2 separate regions of the Homo sapiens genome follow, and region 2 is linked to region 1. Evidence: promoter capture Hi-C in human tissues and cell types (Jung and others, 2019). All regions are on one chromosome and are shown on one strand. The core of a region is centred on a gene start or on the middle of the fragment in contact, and the rest is flanking DNA. Distances in the headings are between cores, read along the strand shown. Region 1 holds the start of LRRC7 (leucine rich repeat containing 7). Region 2 overlaps LRRC7 (leucine rich repeat containing 7).

Evidence for each region. Contacts are between HindIII fragments. The study calls those that stand out against the background at their distance.
Region 2: a fragment that was not itself captured here is called in contact with the fragment with the promoter of LRRC7 in region 1 in 1 of the 25 tissues and cell types used here (dorsolateral prefrontal cortex).

Annotation. Positions count from the first base shown.
Region 1 is chr1:69,564,442-69,571,906 of GRCh38, forward strand. LRRC7 (leucine rich repeat containing 7) reads left to right here and starts at 3,481. Exons shown (of 27, transcript NM_001370785.2): 1 at 3,481-4,200. The coding sequence starts at 4,199. It overlaps LOC105378789 (a long non-coding RNA gene), which reads left to right. Exons shown (of 12, transcript XR_947488.3): 12 at 1-1,409. RefSeq lists a silencer at 2,905-3,134. The HindIII fragment of the contact is 6,759 bases long and covers 1-6,440 here.
Region 2 is chr1:69,709,844-69,717,308 of GRCh38, forward strand. All of the region lies in intron 2 of LRRC7 (leucine rich repeat containing 7), which reads left to right. Among named protein-coding and RNA genes, the nearest start is that of LRRC7, 150 kb to the left of the region's middle. The HindIII fragment of the contact is 4,175 bases long and covers 2,868-7,042 here.

The DNA of each region.
Region 1 (7,465 bases), core at 2,231-4,730:
GTTTTTCAAAAACTAACCACAACAAAGCATCACTGTCCACCCTTACAGTACCCCACTCATACTGATCCTGTCTTACTAAGGTCTACTGTCTCTGAGGTTTTCAGACCTTCATCTTCATGCATCAAAATTCAGTAATGTTTTCTATTTCCCTAATTACCAGTATCTAATTAAGCCAATCCTGTTAAGATACTAACAACTCAAAAACTAAAAGTGTTATCCTGTCTATATGTACTTTTATTTTAATGAGTAATTGCCAAAGGGGATATCTTTTACGACAAGTGTAGCATTTCAGGCATCCAAAGGGAAATATTCAAAGATATTTGACATCTTATTGTTTAATATCGCCATGAGTTTTATTTTCAAATAAGGTTAGTCTTGCTTATCCTAAGAAGCATTATCATTTCAAAGATTTTAGCAGTGTGGGTCAAAGAAATTGATTAACAACTTGCAAAATTTTATAGCCTTAATGTCTAAACATTTATAGATGTAATAGGAACATCAAATCTGTTAAAACTGCCTTGATCTAATTTGTAAAATGGTGATAGTTTTTAGTGTTGGGCCTCTGCTTGAACAACATCCAAAGTATATTTAGCATTTATCTTTCTCCAATTTTTAGACAGTCATCTGCATTTCCAGAGGGTTGATGACAGGGCAGCTTGAAGTTTAAAGACAGCACCTGCATTTGCATTTCAATAGTTCCATAATTCTATGAAACCACTGAAATCTCTTCAATGTCTCATTGTTTAAATAGTAAAGGTGGCCAGATTTTGTTCAAGATTCATAATCTTACAAAAATATGGAGCCGTTGTATTCAAAGCTTATTCTAAAGAGAATACCTTCTCTTTACACCTTATAATCCTGTTTGTTAAAACCCATAACAATTAGGTGGACATCTGAACATATTTAAAGTATTTTATCCATTGGATTTTTATGGTCCAAAATCAAGATTCTAGGACAAGATAAATGGGAAAGGAGGACATGTAGTTTGAAATGTGTTATATCAGCACCATCAATTTTTAATTCGGGGTTCCAAAATTATCTTTTTCTCCATTGGAAAGGAATACGTTTGTTTCCACGTAGGAAACTACTTCCACTTAACACACAGAAGGTAACTTCATTGGTAGGTATGCTGCCTGTATGCAAGGATCTGCAGTTACTCATAACTGGCTGTGTTTTTAAACAGAATAATTTTTGTCAAATATTTTGATACAAAACAATGAAGCCTGAAGTTAAAATAAGAAATTCTGGGCTCAAGTGCAGGGCAACTGGACACCCTTATGAGATGAGCCTTTGTGCCCTTCCTGTAAGTGTGGATTAGATTATCCACCACCTAGATTTAAGAAAGGATTAAATGAAAGAATATATGTGAAAGTACTGTGTTGACTGTATTAAAAAGAACTGGAAACCCATAAAGGACCGCTATAATTGTGTAATTGTTGCGCCAGGTTATTTTGTCAATACATTTTTAATCAGCACCTAAAATATTTCATGTCACTTCATCCAGCAGAGACATTGAGATGTGGCAAAATGTTTAAAAGGACAACACTATAGGTGAAAAAAAAACAGAGCACAACAGTAGTCAATTCAAAAAAAATTCTTTTAACAATTTTATTCCATTTCCTTGCCATTTTCAGAGCCCTTTCTTTTGGTGTTTTGTAACAATATAAAAAACGATCTGGCTTTTCAAAATATACTCCTTTTCCTTTCTATATGCAAATGATATGAAACACTGGCAAGTTGTCCTTAAAAGTCAGCCCACCTTCATGGCCCAGATAAAGTGGGCAATAATTCCTCTCTAGGTCCTCCGCACATTAGGTGCCAGTCTCTCAAGTCTCTTCCTAGACAATTTCTAGCAGCCAGGAAACATAATTTTTGACCTTGAAGACTTTAGCATTCCAAATCTAAGAATACAATCAGGTGTGTTTTCTTTTGGCAAACTGTGAGCTTACACACACCCCCAGAGTGGCATTTGAATGCTGTGCACAGTCTTGACTGTGTTCGAGGTTAGAGAACTAAAGACAAGATTCTTTCTCTCTTGTAATGAAGAAACAAAAACCACATAGCCTATATTCCACAAAAGAATACCAGCATAATATATCCTTTTTTAAAGATGTAATTCATTAGATGTGTGTAGAGAATAAAAGTGTAAATATAGGCTGGGAACGGTGGCTCACGTCTATAATCCCAGCATTTTGGGAGGCCGAGACAGGTGGATCACCTGAGGTCAGGAATTCGAGACCAGCCTGGGCAACATGGTGAAACCCCCGTCTCTACTAAAAATACAAAAAAAATCATCCGGGCGTGGTGGCACGCGCCTGTAATCCCAGCTACTCGGGAGGCTGAGGCAGGAAGATCGCTTGAACCGGGGAGGAAGAGGTTGCAGTGAGCCGAGATCGCGCCATTGTACTCCAGCCTGGTCAACAAGAGCGAAACTCCGTTTCAAAAAAAAAAAAAAAAAGTGTAAATATAGTACTAGCTTCATTGATATGTCTTGCTGCTTCTGGGACTTTAGAGAAGCGTATAAGAAGAAAGTGTGTGTGCCTTTACGTAAGGGAGCATATGAGAGAGAGAGAGAGAGTGTGTGTGTGTGTGTGTGTGTGTGTGTGTGTGTGTGTGTGTGTCAGAGAGAATGTTCATGGCAGGAGGAGGGGCGGTGAATATATGAAGGGAAGTTGGGAAAACCCTTCCCTTTTTGTGCACTCCCAGGGCAGCAGCCGCAACCCCAGAATGAGGAGAGGACTTAAGAGCAGGCACAAGGTTCGCTGCCATGACTGATGTGAAGCGACCTGACGCACAAGCGGAGACTTTTCTCCTTGGCAGCCAACAACCTGCAGCAGGCAAGGCGGGCGGGGGAGGAAACCCCGAGGAGGCGCTCCCGGCCGCCTCTTTGCTGAGATAGCAGGAGCAGCAGCCTGAGGAGCCACGAGCTCAGCGTCACTGAGCTAGTGCGGGTGCAGGGGCGCTCAGGCAGGCGCACAGGCCGGGAGCCGCTTCTGCCGCTCAGGCGGCCGCGCTGCAGAAAGCCGCGCCGCGCTGCCCGAGCGCCCGGGGCTGGCCCGCGAGCGGGAGGAGCCGGCAGCCGCGCTCCGCCCCGCGCTGAGATTCGTGCCACCTGCCTCGAACACCACGGAGGCGAGAGGAACCCAGAGAGCTCGGCCTCTCGTCCCGTTCTCGAAAAGCAGCCTATCGTGACGGAGCCGGGAGAAGGCTAGCGTTTCAATCCTGTGCAGGACTGGGATTTTTCTTCTCATAATTTGGGGGAGCCGGAGTAGAGGTCAGAGGGACAGGCGAGGATCTCAAAAAGAGACCGAGGGTTGTGAACATGGTTACCCCCTCCTATCATTGGAAAATCTCCTTGACATTTTTCACACTTTGAAGCAGCTGCAGCTGGTGTCGTCGGAAAAGGGGGTGGGAAAAAAGAGAGGGGGCGGGGAGAGCGGTGAGACACAGCCAAGAGCCATGAGCGGCGCCTCCTCGCCTGCCAATCCTGGCACCTGTGCGCCGAGCCACTGCACCGAGGAGGACCCTACTCCGGGTGAACACCGGGCTTGAAGCCACGGACACCCAGCCCCAGTGCAGCGGGTTCTCGCCGGCGGGACCTGCAGCCGCCCACTCGGGCCACCGCCACCGCCTCCTGCAGTTGCGGAGCGCTCAGCCCCTCCGAGACGCCCGCTGCGCCCTGGCCCCTGGGGATCCTCGCCCTGCACAGGCGCGGCAACGGGCAGGGGTTGTTACGGAGTTGGGTGCAGGATTCGCCTTTCCTGCTTGTCTCTTCTCCGCCCAGGATTTATTGTCTGTGGAGCCTTCTGGGGGCGGGGAGGGAGCTGCGCCTCCGCCACCGCCGCCGCCGCCGCCGCTGCTGCTGCGGTCGCTAGCGCGGCGCGCTGGGCAGGCTGAGGCTGGGGAGTGGACGCGCTCCTGCCTCCCCCGCCGGCGCTTCGGGCTTCCCCTCAGCCGCTTCCCGCGGGAACCTCTCCAGCCGTCCACCTGAAGGGCACTGGCATCATGGTCTAACGTGGCACCTTCCTGGATTCCCCTCTATCTCCTGTTCTTCCTACCTTCTACTCCTTCCCTCCTCTTCTCCTCCGAAGACCCTGGCGCCCACTCCACTGCGGACCCCTGAACACTTAAGGAATAACCCTTGGCAGCTGCACGACTACGCTCTCCGAAACCTCATGGGCAGTTTCTCCCGCCGGCGATGTGAGTAAGGCACGCTCGCTCCGTGGCGGAGGGTGCTGCGGGGGCCCGGCCGCGGCGACCGTAGGCGCGCGAGGTGTGGGACCCCAGAGGCCGGCCGGGGGCGGGGGTGGCAGGGCGGGAGGCTTCGGCGCTCGCGGGGAGCTGCTTGTGCGGTGGCCGAGGGAGGCGGCGAAGATGTGGTAGGTTGCAGAGCATTTGGAAATGGGGTGCTAACTGGGCGGGTGCATGGGAGCACCGAGTAGCTTGAGCTGGCAAGAGACCTTAAAGGGTTACATACTGCGAAAAGGAAAGGTAAATGTTGGGCGCTGGTGCTGGGACCATTGGTTCCGCTGAAATTAGGTTTAGCTCCTCGTTATTATCTTGGGTATCTCCAGTCAGCTTTTTTCCCAGAGGTGTCTGAGGGATGAAGCGCGTGTTTGATCGTGACACACACACACACACACTCACACACACTTGTGGCAGGACGCACTTGTCTCTTTATCTTGGAAGGTGTTGTATCAATGTCTCGATGTCTGTTTGAAAAAATACAATTAGAAGATTTTTATGTGATTGGGATTGAAGGGAAAGGGTGGGGTTTGGGGGGATGGAGGGGACGAAGGAACATGAAAGACTGGAGGACGGAAAGAAGTGGGGGAGCGTGTTCCCTGGGAGTCAGGGAGAACCTTGCCTCCCTCCCTGTCAGCTAGACAACTCCTGCCCACACATCTCCTTTGTGTGGCACGAGAAGCTGGTGAACCTGCCTATTCCCAATCCAGCGCTGGGTCCCCTTGAGGATCTTGCGTCCTCCTCTCCGAGTTATTAAGGATGCAGGACGTGTTTCGGATTCGACGTGGAAAGAGGGAGGGAAGCACATTAGCATTAAGGTAATCATGGCACCCTGGCTCGTGGACTATTAGATTGGCTACCAGTGGTCTCTAATCTTACTGTTTGCAGAGTCAAGAATGGGGGCGGGGGTTGGGGGACTGTATAGATTGCCTTTTAAAATAGTGTGACTTCATAATAACGGAGATGGCTGAAAGATTGCTTCCTTACACTACTTCTCGGCCATCAGGGCTGAATAAAGGACCCGCCTCCGCCCTCTACTCCGGCTCTTCTCTGGCTGTCTCTTCCCCATCAAGTCATAAAGCGAGCGGGTTGGGCGAGAGGGCACAGCTCGAGGCAGAGAAGAGACGGGGTCACTTTCACAACTCCCAGGAATCGGCTTCAGAAAGGAACCATCTGCGACTCCCACGTTCCTTTCGAAGTTCTCCTTCAAAAGGAATTACAAAAAAAAAAAAAAAAAAAAAAGCGATGGGGGTGGGGATCGGTAAGACACAGGGGTCCTCCCCCTGCTCTTTTCAATTACTTTCCCAATACTCTTTCAACACATCGAATTTACCTGCAGTGGTAACTGGGTCAGCAGGTAAATAGATTTGTATCTGTATATGTCGAAATGTGGCTCTCCTGGTGGATGAAAAGCAATTTTTTGTGAGCATATTCTAACCTAGGCGAAATTTCTAAGCACAATAGAGATTTTTATAGCGTGGGCGAGAAGAGTGCATTCCAGCGAAAGCAGGACACGTGATCCCTCCAACGGGTGAGATACAGTATTAGGAACTCGATTTTCTTTGTTCCAGCCTGAGCCTATGAGATGTTCAGCATCCTGGTTGCTTAAGTCCTCCTATAGAAGGAAAATAATAATAATAATAATAATAAAGTTGATCGGAGGCGAAATAGAGGGAAAATAAGCACAGGTAGACATGCGTGAACGGTTTGAAAGCTTCGCCTCTGCCTTTTTTTACCGCCCACCCTTCACCCCCACCCCTTGCTCCAGCCAGCCCCCTATTTTAAAATGAGGCATTTCCTCTGGGAGACGGTGGAAAAGTTCTCCAGCCCCTGCACACGTGGGTTCTCCAGCACTTCAGAACCTGCTGTGATTCGCAACAGATTACACCACCTTCCCAGTCCAAGTGTCACGCCTCCGTCCAGGCTTCCTTGAATTGGCTTCCAGGAAGGACTCTAAGGGAACTACCACGAGGTGTTTTTTGTTTGTTTGTTGTTTTTTGTTTGTTTGTTTTTACAAAAGACAGTAAAGCAATGAAGTCTTTACTTTTTAGAAATCATTGATTGCACAGGGGGAAAAATGAGCAAATAGGGATGTAGGAATGATTTTATGTTTCCTTAAGAGTCATATGGCTAAAGTATATTGGGGGTGTGTTTAGTGATTGAGTTTGGACTTCTGAGGTGTCTCAGGCCTGTGGAAAATGTCCTGAGGTCAGAATATTTATTAATTTAGTGGAGATATAACTTGTTTATGACCCAACATTTAGAGTTACCTGACTTGGAGATTTCTTATTTCATTTTCACTTAATGTTTTATAATCCATCTTAGTAGGCTAAAGTTTTTAAAAGGTGGTTTATTTATGTGTTATGCTGCATTGCATCATACTAATATGTAATGATAAGAAAAACAGTCAATTTTCATGACTTATTATGAGGTGAGAGTTCTTTATACATTTTTAAGAAAAAACTGACTATCCAAGAAAAAATGTGTACTTACCATGGCCAACACATAAATTCTACATCACTTGTGTCTGCACATATGCAGCTTAGAATTAGAAACAACTTCATAAAGAAACCTGGTCCAGTTGCAGTAGCCATGTTTTATTCAGAATTTTAGTGCAGCTTTAGGCTGTCATTAACATTTTCCCAATTAAATTCTTATTCCACTTTCTTTTTTAAGCTTTTAATTTTTCTAATTCCCTTATAAAATACAGAACATAAGCTTAAAGTGTTTTTGTGCATCTGCATTTTTGTTTTCTTTGGATTTCAAAAAATCACGAAGATATAAATTAATATGAATGTTATTGCTTATGAAAGTAATAAACTATATTATCTATATGATGTTCATTCCAGTGGTACTTGTAGATCTCTCTTATTTCAGCATATAGTACATGATTAAATATTTGATACAAAAACTTGGTCTTGTTAATCACAACTTTAAAACATTCACTTTTTAGAACAGATAAAATATTGATGTTAGGTTTTAATTGATGTATCAAAATTACACTTAGAGATACTAAAATTTTATTTGCTGAATGACTGTGGCCCCAATATAAGAAGGAATCACACATTCCACGAGATTATAACTTCATTGCTTACTCAGATTAACCGACTACACGAAGAGTAACCAATTATTGATGAATTATCATCTGAATTATTTATGGATTCTTATTACATTTTCTTTCTTCACACAAATTATTTCATAGTTTTTTGAAAAAATTATT
Region 2 (7,465 bases), core at 3,705-6,204, 150 kb after region 1:
TAGGAAGCAAGATTTTTTAAGTTTATTTCTTATGATAATGGTAGGGAGAGGGAAAATTATTGATTTATACAACTATGTGTATGGATATATGAAGCAAGACTTTTTAAGTTTCATTTCTTATGATAATGGTAGGGATGATCTAGAAAAAAAGTCAACCGGTGTGGTGTCTTACACCTGTAATCTTAGCACTTTGGGAGGCCAAGGCAGGTGGATCATCAGGTCAGGAGATCAAGCCCACCCTGGCTAACACAGTGAAACCCCATATTTACTAAAAATACAAAAAAATTAGCCAGGTGTGGTGATGGGTGCTTGTAGTCCCAAGGTACTTGGGAGGCTGAGGCAGGAGAATCACTTGAACCCTGGAGGCGGAGGTTGCAGTGAGCCAAGATCACGCCACTGCTCCCCAGCCTGGGCGACATAGCAAGACTCCGTCTCAAAAAAAAAAAAAAAAAAAAGAAAGAAAGAAAAAATGTCAAGACAGGTTACCCAGAGCAGAGAAAGGCAGAAACAGTGGCCCAGTTTAGCTCAGAGTCTTCACTACAGCTTCAGGGCTTCCTTCTCTTGCCAGCAGCAACCAGCAAAGCAGTTTTGTACTGTCTATTCCTCCCTGTAGGGTTTACAGATTTGGAGATGGGTGCATGTTTAAAGGTAACAATGAAAGCTTTATAGATATCTACAGTCTCTGTTGTTTTCATTTTCTGTCTTTTTCTTACTGGGCGTAAGGCAAAACCATGTGCATGAAAGAAACTTGAAGAATCTTGGTTTTGTTTCCTGAAATTTAATTAAAATGTAGTAAAGTGGATAAAATGCTTGGAATGTCTAAGGCAGTGACCCATCAGAAGCCCTTTATGAACCCCTAGATTGTACTGAGTGGCCCTCTTCCGGATTCCTATGATACAATGTGTACACATCCAAAATAGCACTTCTCAGATTATATTTAAATCTGTTTTAGATCCCTGCCCCTCAAAGATAAGCTCTTCTGCAGGGCTTATTCATATTGCATCCCAGAGCCCACGCTGACTAGATAACCAGAACTTAGTCTCAGTTTGGAACTCTCTTTTCCCTTTTAGTTTATGAAGACATTTATATATAGACTTTAAAGACCTGCTTTTAAATTCAAGTGACTCCTAGGGCTTACTGCAAAAACGTTCTTTGCTCCACCCAGATCTCACAAGTCCAGTGTTGAGTGTATGGCCTCATGCTTTCTGGAAAGCCCTCCAACTCTGATTCTTACAGGCTGAGCAGCTGTAAGATGTAACAACAAATCCTAATGAATCTCTGAAGATATTGGTGACCTTCAAAATATAGTAAATTCTCCCTTGCTGAGGATGGCTGTGGTGTAATTTTTCCTAAAATGATAAACTGAGTGTGGCTGTTTAAAATTTCTGTCAAACCTGTAATTCAATCTAAATATGCTCTCTATCACAATTCTTGCTTGGAGTAATGCTTATCACATTTCTTTGATATGCAGTGCCTGTACTTCAACAGCTCCTAGCACATTGTTGGCACTAAATAATCAATGACTGTTAGTGATCATGTCACAAAACACTAGAGAACATTGACCATGAGACTGAGTTAAAGTTCTTAGCCAATTCAATATCTGTTTCAAAGCATCCTTGACATTTCAAATCCCCTGAATTTTTCATTTACTCAGTAATTGAAAACCTAAATCTAGAACTGTGGTATTATCACAAGTGCCCACTGCACCCTCTGGATTCAAAAGGTTAATTTTAATGAACTTTTAAACACTTGCATTAGGCAATTTCATTTAAATATAATTGAAATGTGAAGCTGGGTAGTTGTAGTGCTTGGCATTCAAATCTGGCCTATTTACCGTGTCGTCATGGCTCAAGTGCTGTAGCAACACTTGATAAATATTACAGTGTCTAGAGTCATAAACACTGATTATAAGCATAACTGAACAAGGTCTTTGCCCCTGGGAAACCATGTTTTAAGTAGGAGCTTATACCCTAAGGACTTTTAACCGTACTTTCCACTTTTGAGTAGCATGTCGGAGGCAGGTCAAACTGGAGTCAAATGCAGCTTGGGCCACAGAAAGATGTAGAAAGTTCAGGAAGTATATGCTGGTGAGAATTAGCATGTACCTAATATGCACAATGAGTGGGGATCTTGTGTCATCATTTACATATAATCAAAGCACTGCATGAGGAGATTGTATTTCAAAAATTTTGACTAAAAATCTAGAAACCAGAAATGCCACTAAAAAGAGTTATGGCCCAAAGCAAGGAGCCTTTCAAAAGGCTTTCAAACAATACTTTCATATATAAGTTATCTCATAAAGTCGTTTAAAATAGACTTTAACCTGGAGGCTCAGTCACTTAGCCAAGTGTACCCCCAACCAATGAGGACAGTGGTAGCACTGAGAAAAAGAACACACACACACACACACACACACACGTGCACACGCGCAAGTGCTTTAAAATTTAATTTTCTAAAGTATTTTATTTAGGAAAAAAAGGGCCAGGTGCAGTGGCTACGCCTGTAATCCCAGCACTCTGGGAGGCCGAGTCAGGCAGATCACCTGAGGTCAGGAGTTTGAGACCAGCCTGGCCAACATGGCGAAACCCTATCTCTACTAAAAATAGAAAAATTAGCCAGGCTTGGTGGTGGGCGCCTGTAATCCAAGCTATTCAGGAGGCAGAGGCAGGGAGAATTGCTTGAACCCAGGAGGCAGCGGTTGCAGTGAGCCAAGATTGCGCCATTGCACTCCAGCCTGGGCGACAGAGCGAGACTCCATCTCACAAAACAAACAAACCAACAACAAAAAAAGAACCATTAGGGCTAGTATTCTGGTCTCTATTATAACAAAAAGTTATTTTTATTTTTTCTTTCAGCATTAAAAATGTAGTATCACTAGTGACTAAGTGCATTTGGTCTCTTATAAAAGAATAATAAAATACTGTGTTTAAAAGTATGTGTGCTTTGCTGGCTTTATTTCTCTTGTATGAAGGAGTGGGGTGATGATGTCCATATTGCATTAGCCATGGAAAGGCCCAGTTTCAGCTATCTGCAAGGGAAAAAAGCAAGTCTATGCATACTTTAAATAATAACTGCTGCCTATGTAACACAAAGATCTGTTGTTCTAAATTTAGCCACATATTCCCTCCAGTGTATTGAATGGCGAATCTCCCTGAACGTGGAGGGGCACGTTTTGTTTTCAACAAAATGACAAGATTACAGACAACAAGAATGTAATAGTTTATTTTTAAGATATCACTTTCATGGATACTGTAATAATATATTTTAGGCATATAATTTTACCTATTGTAATAAAAAATAATAATAACAAATACCCTTCTTCTAAGGAGAGTGTTTGCTCTTAAGAAGAACTTATTTTAAGGCCAGGCACGGTGGTTCATACCTGTAATCCCAGCACTTTGGGGGGCCAAAGCAGGAGGCTCACTTGAGCCTAGGAGTTCCAGATCAGCCCAGGAAGCATAGTGAGACTTGGTCTCTCAAAAAAAAATGTATATATATATATTTAGACAGGTGTGGTGACCTTCACCTGTAACGTCATCTACTCTGGAGGCCGAGGTTGGAGGATCACTTGAGCCTGGGAGGTCAAGGCCACCAGTGAGCCGTGATTGTGCCACTGCACCCCAGCCTGGATGACAAAGCGAGACCCTGTCTCAAAAACAAACAGAAAGAGCTTATTTTACTTTTTTTTTTAACTATGAGATGTTAAGTTTGATGATTACTGCCATTTTACAGAAAAAGAAATTAAATTATCTGATTCCTGTTTTCTAAGTTGTAGGCCTATGCTACATCAAATGGTATTTAATCAGACTGTTGAATGACTGTTTCCTTAATGTCCAGCTACGTTTATGATCATTTCAGCTAAACCTTAGTTACTTGAATTACACAGAGTTGGAATCTGCATGGCATCTCGTATGAAACTGATCAAAGGGTTTGAATTCTGGGGAATAGAGATAATTGTTTAACATTAATACAGACTTTTGCCCCAAATAAGAATTTCCAGTCACAAAATGTTAATCACAATGGCTGAATGCTTGTGTATCAGACACCTAAGAGCTTTGCTTAGAAAATTTACCCAGTAATCTTGCTAATTCCTGGGACTCTCTTCTTCTCTCTCTTCTTATTCTGTCTCTTATTAATCCCAAAGCTAAACTCATCCAGCACCCTCATAACAAATATTTTGTACAATTTGCAAAAAGAGTCATATGCAGAGAGGTATGTTATATGGACTGGCCACAGCCTTACACCAATTCACCTTGCTCTCCAGGCCTTCCCTCTTCCCGGAATGAGATTCTCCTTCTGCCACTCCCAGACACACTCAACTCCCCTGAGTTACTTCTTCTACACCAAGAAGACATACTGAGGAATTTTTCCAACAATATCTAGTCTCCCTCTAGGAGGAAATTTCTTACCAACAAAAATTTGTCCAGTTTAATACATAAGCAATATTTATCAAATTTTTAAAAGTATGAAGTGCTTATACTCTACAATATACCATCCCTGAAATTTGTTGAAATGCAAAGATAAATCATGGAGGAAAGCAGCTTATGAAAAAGTTACAGTTTAGTCATTTGATGTGATGAAACATAAATAATTAGAATCTATTGAAAAGTGTTATGAGAGGAAATGAGAAATGGCAATTTAGAGGACAGTGAAATATTACATACAATTGAAAGGAATCAGGAAAGGCTTCCTGGAAGAGGAAGCTCATTATCTGGACTTTGATGAGAGTGATGAAACCACAGGCAGAAATCAGTAGAAGGGCAGTCCTAGCGGGAGGAACAACATGAACAAAGATGTAGTGGGGGCCAGGATGGGGAAGATTCCACCAGGTGTTTCAGTCTTCCTGGTTCATAAAGTATGTATTGAAAAACTGTTGTGGGTAAAGTCAGGGGCAGAGAATCACTTTTTAACTTGAATAGCAAGATTAGGAATCTGATGTTTTTTTTAATTCTGTGAACAGTGGCAAGACCAGGAGGAGCATTTTTATCACGTTAAAACCGTAATTTCTATCTCACTTTAATAATGCATTTATTATCAGGAAATTATGTCTGCCTAAACACATCATTTGCTAAGCTTTATTGATTCTAAGACTATGCATTTTGTGCAAATAAAGAATTGTATCAATTAAACATAATCTTCAGCATTTTATGTGCTATTTATATATTGTCACCCTAGCTTTTATTTTCCAAAATATCCTTTAGAGTTCCAAATTCAAGAAAAGATTTTAGTATCTAAGTCATACTGTGTAAAATTGGCTTGTTTAAGTAGATCTTGAAGTTTGCGGCCTTTTGATTTCCTTTTTTAAATTTTTAATAGAACCATTGCACTAAGTAATAATGATAATCAATCCTCCCTTTAAGACTTTTAAGACATACCAGGCCCTGCCTGACTCTGGACATGAACTAGGTACTTCTCTGTCCCACTGATAAATGGAAATTCTCTATAGTCCTGACTTATACATTTAATGATTATATAGAGAGTCTTGGGTTTTACAGATATAGATATAAAGGCTCTATATTGAGTATTCAAATTAATAAATTTAAAGTACATTTTCTTTTTTATTTCCCATATCAACCATGGGATAATAAATGTATAGAATACAAATTGCAACACCAAGTTAATATGTTTATCTCCATCAGTCTCATGCAAGTCACTTTTCTAAAATACACTTAATTACAAATGCATTTGGGGATTTTGGGCTCAATTATTTTAGTTATAATGTACTGAATACATTAAGCTATGACTATATGCACATATAATAACTAACCAATGTCAAAGCATTTAGTTTTGTTTTAATGATCACTGGGAATAACCAAATCAGTGTTTAAGGTATAATAGCAAGATATAAAATTTTATCGATTCAGAATAATTAGAGGAGAAGGCAACTCTAACCTGTATGAATCTAAATTATAAAATATTTTTTAAATTTTTTTATAAATTCAAGATAAGGAAAAATACATTTTACATTTATTATTTAGTTATTAGAAATAAAATAGGCAAGAAGGAAAAGCACTGTACAAAGCATTTTTGCTTATAGGTACCAAAATGTTGCATTAAGGAAGAATGTTGGACAACAGTATCATCCTTTTATTCCACCCTGGATTTATATACCCACAGCTCTAATGTTTAGTGGCAGTGTTTGTGGAATTATTCTTATAGGATATGTAACCTGACAATTAGGGAAGCATCTGATTAAGCTCTTCACATTCCATTCTTGCTTATTATGTTCATTTAGATGCATTTGTCAATTTATAATTGCAGTTAATTGAAATTTTTTAAATTTTCTTTTTTTTTAAAGGAGCCCGCTACATGAAAAAAAATGCAAGTCAAAGTGGTCACAACCTAGAAGTCTGCAGAGACAGGAATAACTAGCAAGTAGATACTATATTATTTTACTATGCTTAAGTATATAGAATTCAGTAGTGTTATGGGAATTTTACACTATAATTACCAAATAGTCTTGTAATTTTAAATTTATACTTAGCAGTTTTCATGTTAACCTATATCACATCACAAAAATAATTAGGAAGAAACATGGTAACTATGAATCTCAGGAAACTCATTTTCTGTCAGTAATAATGAAATTACTTTTATAAGAAACATGAATTTAAATACTGTATCCTCTCTCAGGTCTTATTTTTAGAGCCCCTAATTCAATACTTATTCCTTCATAAAAAGAGTAAATGAATCTGCCTATGTCTTGTGACATATTTATCCACTATGTAAATGCATTGATTCCTCTCATAAGCCATTCATAAATATTATTTTATAATAATGCTTCTAAGAAATAAAGTGAAATTATATTCTTTTTTGAAGGTTACATTTCAAAAATTCAAGGTGATATCAAATGAAATCCAGGCACAAAGCGGGAGCTTTGCATTTATCAGTATTTCCTGACATTTTCAAGAAATGAAATAGGAGGTTCAATGATGAAAGCATGCAATGTTTAGATAAATGGATAAAAAATGAACTTAAGAATGTGGAAAGAGTAAATAAGATTATTTGAATAGCAAGAAGAATCTTTGAAAATCTCATTGCTCCATATTAAAGTGGTCAGAGTTGATTCTTTATCCACAAATGTATCTCGAAAATTGTAATAAAATCAGAAAATACTAAAGCTAAAAGGATTTTAGAAAGTATTTACATAAATATTTCATTGGTATGGGGAAGGGAACTAAGTTTGCAAATAAAAACTGATTTTACATATATATCTACATATATACATATATACATACTTTTTTTTCAAGATAGAACTTAATACAGCTAGTTCTTAATTTAATAGGACTTATTCAATAGTAATGATTAAAATATACATGCAAACAAAAATGTATACAAAATGATGGTAGTATCCATAATCAAAATTTTATGCATAAATGTTTTATATTTAAAATTTTATAGTAGTAGATATTTCTATAACCACAGAAAATGTGTAAAATTGTGTTTCAATTGCTTAGCAGTACAGATT